Regions from separate parts of the Homo sapiens genome. Here all the other regions are linked to region 2. Evidence: promoter capture Hi-C in 16 types of primary human blood cells and fetal thymus (Javierre and others, 2016). All regions are on one chromosome and are shown on one strand. Each heading gives the region's core, a stretch centred on a gene start or on the middle of the fragment in contact. The rest is flanking DNA. Distances are from core to core; before and after follow the strand shown. Region 1 overlaps LOC105370839 (a long non-coding RNA gene). Region 2 holds the start of FOXB1 (forkhead box B1). Region 3 has its middle 84 kb from the start of BNIP2.

Region 1 (2,787 bases), core at 83-2,582, 170 kb before region 2:
TTCTGAGGGTTTTCCGCTGCTTGGAAGAAAATTTTCCAAAAGAGGGCAAACCATAAGCAAAATAAAGAAAAGACTGCAATTTGGTTTTGACAACTTAACTTCCCTTTAAATGTCCATTTTCACCTACTTTGTATTTCCTTTATATTCCTCAACCTTGGGTACTGGTAGCTTTCAAAGCATGCTTTAGTTAAATGACAACAGCTTAAGTTACTGCTTTTCCTAGTGACTCAACGGGGACTCGTAAATGCAAATAAATTAATTTATGGTAGGAGAATTTTAGATGTCATAATGGAGTGGGTGGGTTCATGATACCTGGAAGGTCTCAAATTGCACTCATTCATCAGGCCAGCCTTGTTGCTTGACCATCTCATATAGATCGGCCCTTACAACTCTGTTGGAGGAATGTCAGTTGACTGGTGAAGAGATATTAAGAAGTGGTCTGTGTGATGCCTGTTGCTATATGAGTGGTTGTCTCATCACATAACCTCATTTGGGAACCTCATCCTGAAACAAGAGATCACTCTCAGTTTTATGTTCTTTACCCAGCCTTGGTATTTCTAGATTCTATCCATGTCATCTAATTCTAGACTTGGAACTAAGACCCATGCTTTCTGCCATAACCATGGAAAGAAGGATCTTCTACAGGTATGATTTATTTTTAAAGGGCCATGGGCAGGATTCCTAATGGGAAAATCATCCCAGACAAACTTTTGTTAGCAAAGGTGGGTGTGCCAGTGCAAAATGTCCAGATGATTTAGACTAATTCATGTCCCAACTCATGTTCACATTAGACATCCAGTATTTGAGGCTATTTATCTTTTAACATCACAGTTACCTAAGAGAACATATTAGGGCAGACGATGTCAAAAGAAGGGGGAGAGGTATGTAGGGATCTCAGTTCACAATGTGAAAAGTGAATGAGTGAAAGTATCATATCCTCTTGACTCAAAAGTGTACCTTAAGAAAATGAAGTTAATGTTTTATAGTTCATAAAATCATGTTACAGTTCATAAATATGCTTAATATAGTATTTTGTTATTTTCTTCCATACTCTCCATGATTAAATACTGTAATCAATATTTCCTTAGAGTTTAGGAGATACCATTCATTCCTTCTAGGCTAGAATGTCTTATTCACAACTTCTTGATTGTATTTTAGCTTGTAAAACCACCACCACTAAATCTCTTCTATAGCTGATGAGAGGAAGGCCAGGCAGCTCTTTAAAAAATGAAAGTATTTAAATTGGAGAAAACCCAGCTTAAACATGGCAAGTGGCTGAACTGAAGCTGTCAAGGCCAAGCTGTTGTGAATGGGAACCTAACTCAAGGTCCTGTGGCAGACATCAAGTTAAGGGTGTATCCAAAGTTAGAGGCCAGGGCAGTAAAAGACAATGGACAAATTCAGAGTAACACAGGTTTCAGAAGCAGAATTTGTAAAGAATGCTGGGAGCAAAAGTGTTAACTGTGAAGGAATGGGATGATTGGGGAAAGAAACTTAGACATTCTTACTTTTAGGCTGGGCATGGTGGCTCATGCTATAATCCCAGCACTTTTGGAGGCTGAGGCCAGAGGATTGCTTAAGCCCAGTTCAAGACCAGCCTGGACAACATAGGGAAACCCTGTCTCTCCAAAAAATAAATAAAATTAGCCAGGCATGGTGGCACATGCGTTTAGTCCCAGCTATGCAGGAGACTGAGGTGGAAGGGTTGCTCGAGCCTGGGAGGTGAAGGCTGCAGTGAGCTGTGAATGTGCCACTGCACACTCCATCTTGGGTGAAAGACTGAGACCCTGCCTCAAAAATCAAAAAAATTCTTACTTTTAATTTGTGTGCTTCAGGTGCTATTTTATAATGAGCTTATAATTTTTTAATTTAAGAAACTATAAAAATAATTTAAAAGAAAAAATATACCCCAGAAGTAAAAGTGGCTTGCAACTGCTGAGGTGCAGGCCTGGCAAATCTAGAATAACTTATTAAGACAATTATTAGCAACTGCCCTACTTCTATATGCCCATCCTACAACTCTCTGTCTCTTGGGCCTGCCCCTGACAACATGGGACCCAGACAGTCTCTCATCGCAATAAGACTCCTCCTCCAGTGATTCCTCAAGCAGTGATTGAAGGAAGCGGTCTACCTGTAGGCCATACAGACTACTGGATCAAAAAGCACCCAGGAGGAGTCAGTGGTTGAGGTTTGCCTTCTGTAAACCTGGAAGGTTACATGGCTTGTTGCATGCTAATGGCAGAGAGGAGAATCAAATGCCCTGTTATATGAAAACAAATATTAATTTTCCCATTGCCGTGGTCTGAGTGCGACCCCAAAATTCATATGTTGAAACTTACTTGCCAATGTGATAGTATTAAGGGGTGATTAAGTCATGAGGTCAGAGCCCACATAAATGGGATTAGTGACCTTATAAAAGAGGTGCTAGGGAGCTGTTCATGCTTTCTGCCATGTGAGGATGCAGCGACATGGTGCCATCTATGGAGCAAAGGGGGAGGACTCATCAGACATTGAATCTGCCAGCATGCTGATCTTGGACTTTCCAGCCTGCAGAACTGTGACAATTAATTTCTATTATTTGTAAATTACCCAGTTTAAGGTATTTTGTCATAGCAGCCAAAACAAACTGAGACACTCATGCTTTAAGGCCTTTGGTCAGTGTCTACCTGGAAAGGAGCCTTGTTTGCCCTCAAAGGCCAAGAACTGAGAAAGCTAGACATCACTAATGCTCATGTTTCCTCGTGCCATGTCCAGGCAAACCAAAGGGGAAAAAAAATCTTTCTTTCC
Region 2 (2,763 bases), core at 81-2,580:
TCGATCATGCCGGCGGAGCCATACACGTGTGGCCAGCCGGTGCCCAGCGAGCTGCCCATGGTAGTCAACTGGTTGGGGAGCGGGTAGGCAGCGGGCACCGGCTGCATGGCGGAGAAGGCCAGCCCCCCAGGCATCTTGTATTCCCGCGCGATGATGTTCTCGATGGCGAAGGGGTGCTTGAAGCCCGAGGGCTGCGCCACGCCGCCCAAGTTGTAGGCGGCGGCGGGCATCTGTGGCAGGTGCGTGCCCGAGGCCGCCAGCGCGCTGAGCCGCAGCTTGGCCTGCTGCTGCAGGTACTGCGCCGCGTCGGCTGGCTTGCTGGGCGCCAGGTGGTCGGACTTAAGCACCTTGAAGCGCTTGCGGCGCCGCAGGAAGCTGCCGTTCTCGAACATGTCCCCGCAGCTTGGGTGCAGCGCCCAGAAGCTGCCCTTGCCTGGCTGGTCCGGCCGCCGCGGGATCTTGATGAAGCAGTCGTTGAAGGAGAGGTTGTGGCGCAGACTGTTCTGCCAGCGCTGCGTGTTCTCCCTGTAGTAGGGGAAGCGGTCCATGATGAACTTGTAGATCTCGCTCAGCGGCAGCATCTTCTCGGGAGAGCTCTGGATGGCCATAGCGGTCAGCGAGATGTACGAGTAGGGCGGCTTCTGGTCGCTGTACGTGTTGCGGCCGGGCCGAGGCATCTTCTTCCTCGCCCTCTTCTTGCTCTGGGTCCGCGCGGGCCGGCGGACTGCTCGGATCTGGGAAGGGGGTGGGTAATAGGGAAAGGTAGCATGGATGCACAGAGACACCGGCGGGGTCAGCCAGACCGAGTAACAGACTTCGGGGGTCGGGGGTGGGGCCTGCGGCGCTCGATCAGCCAGCGCCCGGACTCTTTCGCCAGCAACTTTGCGGGCTTAGTGGGCGCGGGAGGGGAAGCCGGCGAACGGCGCGAGGATAGCCGGGAAGTAAGTCGGTACTGGGGCCAGAATAGGGGGCAGGGACGGAACAGAGAGCTGCTCACCTTAAAGTTGCTTCAAGTTGCGCGTCCGCATCCGGGAGGACGCCGCTGCGCGCCGCTTCTCTCTCGGCGCGCACTCGACGCGCACTCCGCGCGCAGCGTCCGGGTCCGGTTGGACTCGGCGCGAACCTGGGCTCTTGAGCTCAGCCCCGCAGCGTCCCGTGCCGCCCGGTCCGCGACGCTCCTGGAGCGTCCTGCGGGCGGCCGAGCTCGGCTGCGGAGTCCCGGCGCGGATGGTGGCAGCGACGTGTTAGGGCTCCGGAGGGCGCTGCTGTGGGCTCCGCGTCTCCGCTGAGCTAGGTGGCTGCCTCCATGTCCTCCCTCGAACCATCTGATAGTTTTAAGCGGTGACAGGAGCAGAAAAGACCCCTGTAGCGGCGCTTCATTAATGTGCCACTTCTTAGCTATCATATGACAATCGCCTTGGGAGGAGGAGGAAGAGGAGGGGGAGCGGGGGCTGCAGAGGGAGGGGACTGAGCGAGAAGGGAGAGCCCGGCCAGCTCTGGTTTCTTTCACACCTATTTACATGGACACCTTGGCCAATAGGAATCACTTCCAGCTCAAGACTGGGCGAGGGGGAAGAGCCTCGGCCACTGGGCAGGCAGCTGGACGCGCCGGCCGGTGTGCGCCGTGTGAAGGTATGAGGAAGCGGCCGCCGCGGAAGAGGGAGCCAGGCGACCACTCACGTTCACAGATGGAGCAGCCGCGCGGATGATGTTTGACATGGAAATTGCTTGGCTGGGGTATTCTGTTTCCTCTGCGTTGTATCCGGTTTGTATCGTTAGGTAACTTTAGGCACGGCTTTCCCCTGAAGCCGACCCTTTTCCTGCGCTTAGCACTACCCGGGGTTGGTTGCATGGGTTATAATAATGAAAACACACCCTTGCCCCCCAGTCCCCGGAGAGTTAGGTCGAAATTTGACTTGACTTTCCTATGCAGCTGCTTCAGCTTTGTATAGTTAGTGTGTAGCTTTGAAAAAGTGATGGGGTTTACAAATACTTTCAAAATGTGATTGGACATCCCCATGTAAGAACCCATTTTGAATGTAACTGTATTGACCAAATTTTTAAAAATTAAAATAGTGTATCTGGGCGAAGAGTCCAGGTATTTGCTTTAAAAGTCCTCCGGGAATTTGGTTGGACACAGGATGGAGGCTCAGGAGCTGTTGGGGCAAATGTTGTGCGGACCTGGGGAGGGCCTGAGTTTGTTTGACACAGTTTATCACCAGGTAAGCCTCAGGGGCTCTCGCTTTTCCCAGGTGGTTTGAAACTTTAGGACTCAGGCACATCCTGGAAGTTTTCATTTTACACCCGGAACTCCCCTTCCCAGCCCTCCCACCCCCCCAACCTCCCACCCCCCATCCCCCAACTGCCGCTTTTTTTGGTATGGAGAACTTATTTAGGATTTAGAGTGTAGCAAAAGCCGCCTGCGATCCCACTAAGACAGCAGTATCTTCTACAACTTGGGGAAAGAACCATAGAGTTTTCCTTCTTGGGGAGCGGGGAATGTGCCTTGGGTCACTCCGCCTGGTGCGAGCAGCAGGCTCCCTTCGGTTCGGATTCGCCTTGGAAGGGTTAAATGAATCATTATTATTATTATCATTATCCTCATCGTCGTCGCTGCCGTCATCATCATCATCATCAAATTGCTATGAAATAAATAGTGAGTCGACCCCGCCTGCATGCACGCACTCTATAAGTACACACCAGGAGTTCCCACGGGTTTCTGCACATTCTCCGACCTTTAAGGTTTTTAAAAGACATTCATTT
Region 3 (2,858 bases), core at 93-2,592, 230 kb after region 2:
GCATATACTGTCTGGTTGGACACAGGTATACTTTGGTGATCTCTTAATATTTATGGAGTCTGCCTTCTCCATGGTGGTGTTAATTGTCTCTGAGGACCTAAATCCCAGGAATAGTGACAGAGTCAATGGGGTTCTGTTTGGAACTTTTATGCAATGTGCAGATGGCTTCTCTCAGGGCCGTTCTTGTAAACACAGACATATTAACTTAAATAGAAAATGCCTTGCAAGACGCATTTATGAGCAGAAATTGGTGGTGCTGAATGGTAAGATGTGGGAAAAACATAGAGAGAATCTTCTCTGTATTTTAACTCTAGCGCTCAGAATCTTATATCACATTAGACTCTGTGATTATTTTGGTAAGCTGCCTTAAATCCTCTCTGGAATCATGGTAGGCATATACATGTACAAGCAAATAAACAAATCCATACATAAACAAACAGGTAGAATGTATTGAGTCTCACTATTTGGCAGTTAATGTGCTGGGTGTTTTTCACATAACTGTTTCCTTTAATCCTCACAACAAACTGTTGGTCATACATCCTAACCCCAGTGATTTGTCAGATATTTACTGGAAGAGATAGGGCCATGTGGGCCTTCTACTTTTCATGCCTCTGCAGCAAGCAATACCAAGGAAACCAGCAAGGTGAGAGGGAATGACACAGCCGCTAGGAGAACCTCTAAACAAGGCAGAGGAGGTGTGTACTTGAGAGTTAAGGCTTGATTTTCCTGATTGCTAAAATTGCTAAAGAAAATGGCCCTGCTTCTATTTTCTTCCTGGTGGCTTTTCCTGTATATACTTTAAATGGAAAATATCACTAAAAGGATGACTGGCCAAACGGGGCAAATAGGGAGAAAAACTTTCACTTCCCTTTCCGCTTGAACCCCAGGTCCTTGTATTTCAGCATGTGTCTACAGTGAGATTCCATCCTGTTCATTTGTTTTTGTTTTTGTTTCTGTTTTGAGACAAAGTCTCACTCTGTCACCCAGTCTGGAGTACAGTGGCATGATCTCAGCTCACTGCAACCTCCGCCTCTGGGTTCAAGCGATTCTCCTGCCTCAGCCCCCCAAGTAGCTGGGATTATGGTGCACACCACCATGCCTGGCTAATTTTTGCATTTTTAGTAGAGACAGTTTTCACCATGTTGGCTAGACTGGTCTCGAACGCCTGACCTCAGGTGATTCACCCGCCTTAGCTTCCCAAAGTGCTGGGATTGCAGGCTTGAGCCACCGCTCCCCACCAGCCTCTTCATTTGGTATCACGGGCACTGTGTTTTTCATAATTCTTCCACAAACCTCAAAGAATTAAAAGGTTGTCCTTTTAGGATGTAACAGATCTTTCATTTGCATGATTAAGTCTCACGCAAATGTGAAGATGGTAGGAAACCCATTTTCGCATTTGTAGGCTGTGTGACATAGTGAGGACTAAAATGCATGTCGATGTCTGATCTTCCTCTCTGAGGTAGTCAGAAGCTCGGGTCTCTGATTTGGCTCTGAGACCCTGATCTGGTAGGGCAAGGAGTGAGCTTCTGAGAAACCACATCCCAAAATAAGTGTCGGTCATGTACCGAAAAGACAATGCAAACAGAGTGATAGAAAGGCAGCAACAAAAGGGAATTAGAACCAGCACAGAGAAATATGAGTGGCTCAGATTCCCTCTGGAGAGATTCACCATGGAGTCAGAATGAAGAGGTTGAATGAGGTGTTTTACAGAGCCCATTGGGTGGGGTGGAAGCTGTTAACAGCACTGTTGCAGGCACAGGAAACTAGGTCTCCCTATGCACCAGGCAGAAACTCCATAGATATTAAACAAAAGATTTAATTTTTTTCAAGCAAAACAGCCTGTCCTAATGGCTATTAAAGCAATGAACAGTCAGAACTCTGTTGTACAGGTAAATTGCAGCTGACTGTTTCAGTTATTGGCTGTCAGAGAAACTAGATGTCAGAAAAGTTCTGTTGTCATTTAGATTCTCAGAAAGTTTACGTTGTGTGTGTGTGTGTGTGTGTGTGCAGTCCTGCACACAGATACACACAGTTCTAAGAAGCATACAGTAGGCAAACAAGAAAAAAATTAAGCCAGGTATGGTAGTGTGTACCTGTAGTCCCAGCTACTCTGGAGGCTGATGCAGAAGGATCATTTGAACCCAGGAGGTCGAACCCCCAGTGAGCTATGAGCATGCACTCCAGCCTGAGCAACAGAGGCTCAAAAAAGAAAAGAAAAGAAGAGAAAAAATAAAAGAGTCTGCATTGTACCAAAACCACCAGTTCCCTCTGTGTGTTCATTGAATTCACTGAACAAAAATAGTAATATAATGTATTCTGCTGAACCAGACAGAAAGTAGTTCTTTTCAACCTAACAAGTAACATGTCATTTATGTTGTGTCTCACACAGCGTCTGGTGCGATAGTACATACAGCAGGAATGCATAAAATAGTCTTTAATCCTTTGTGAAAGCTAACATTTAGTCACATCAAACAGATCACTTCTCAAAACAATGGTAACCTTTCCCAAGTGCCAAATTACTTTTGCCATAACATTCCATTTCCATTGTTCCTTAGCGTAGTCAATTCCATGGCTTAGAAGATGTCAGGGGGTTCAGTTTCCTCTCCTTTGGCAGAGTTTGACATACAGTATCATGTTCTTCACTGTAAGCCCTCCTTAACGCAACCAATAAGGTCCAGTGCACCAGGGCCTGTTATGGGCTGAGGAAGAAGGGGTGAGGCAGATGAAGAAGAAGATTCCATGCAAATGCATGGATCTTCACAACATAAAGAGAAACCTGAATGCAGAAGAAGCTGGTTATAAGGAAGAGATTTCTGTAACACGACTCCCCAGGAGATGCAGTCACCCTCACATCAGCT

The links. Contacts are between HindIII fragments. The CHiCAGO score rates a contact against its expected background, and 5 or more counts as called.
Region 1: a contact is called between a fragment that was not itself captured here and the fragment with the promoter of FOXB1 in region 2, in 1 of 17 cell types (activated CD4 T cells). The highest score is 5.4, in activated CD4 T cells.
Region 3: a fragment that was not itself captured here is called in contact with the fragment with the promoter of FOXB1 in region 2 in 1 of 17 cell types (non-activated CD4 T cells); the score reaches 5.4 in non-activated CD4 T cells.

What each region holds. Positions count from the first base shown.
Region 1 is chr15:60,169,104-60,171,890 of GRCh38, reverse strand. All of the region lies in intron 1 of LOC105370839 (a long non-coding RNA gene), which reads right to left. Among named protein-coding and RNA genes, the nearest start is that of FOXB1, 170 kb to the right of the region's middle. The HindIII fragment of the contact is 4,724 bases long and covers 1-2,787 here.
Region 2 is chr15:60,002,878-60,005,640 of GRCh38, reverse strand. FOXB1 (forkhead box B1) reads right to left here and starts at 1,330. Exons shown (of 2, transcript NM_012182.3): 1 at 998-1,330; 2 at 1-734. The coding sequence starts at 677. RefSeq lists an enhancer at 1,134-1,649. The HindIII fragment of the contact is 10,028 bases long and covers 1-2,763 here.
Region 3 is chr15:59,771,836-59,774,693 of GRCh38, reverse strand. No RefSeq gene overlaps it. Among named protein-coding and RNA genes, the nearest start is that of BNIP2, 84 kb to the right of the region's middle. The HindIII fragment of the contact is 5,162 bases long and covers 1-2,858 here.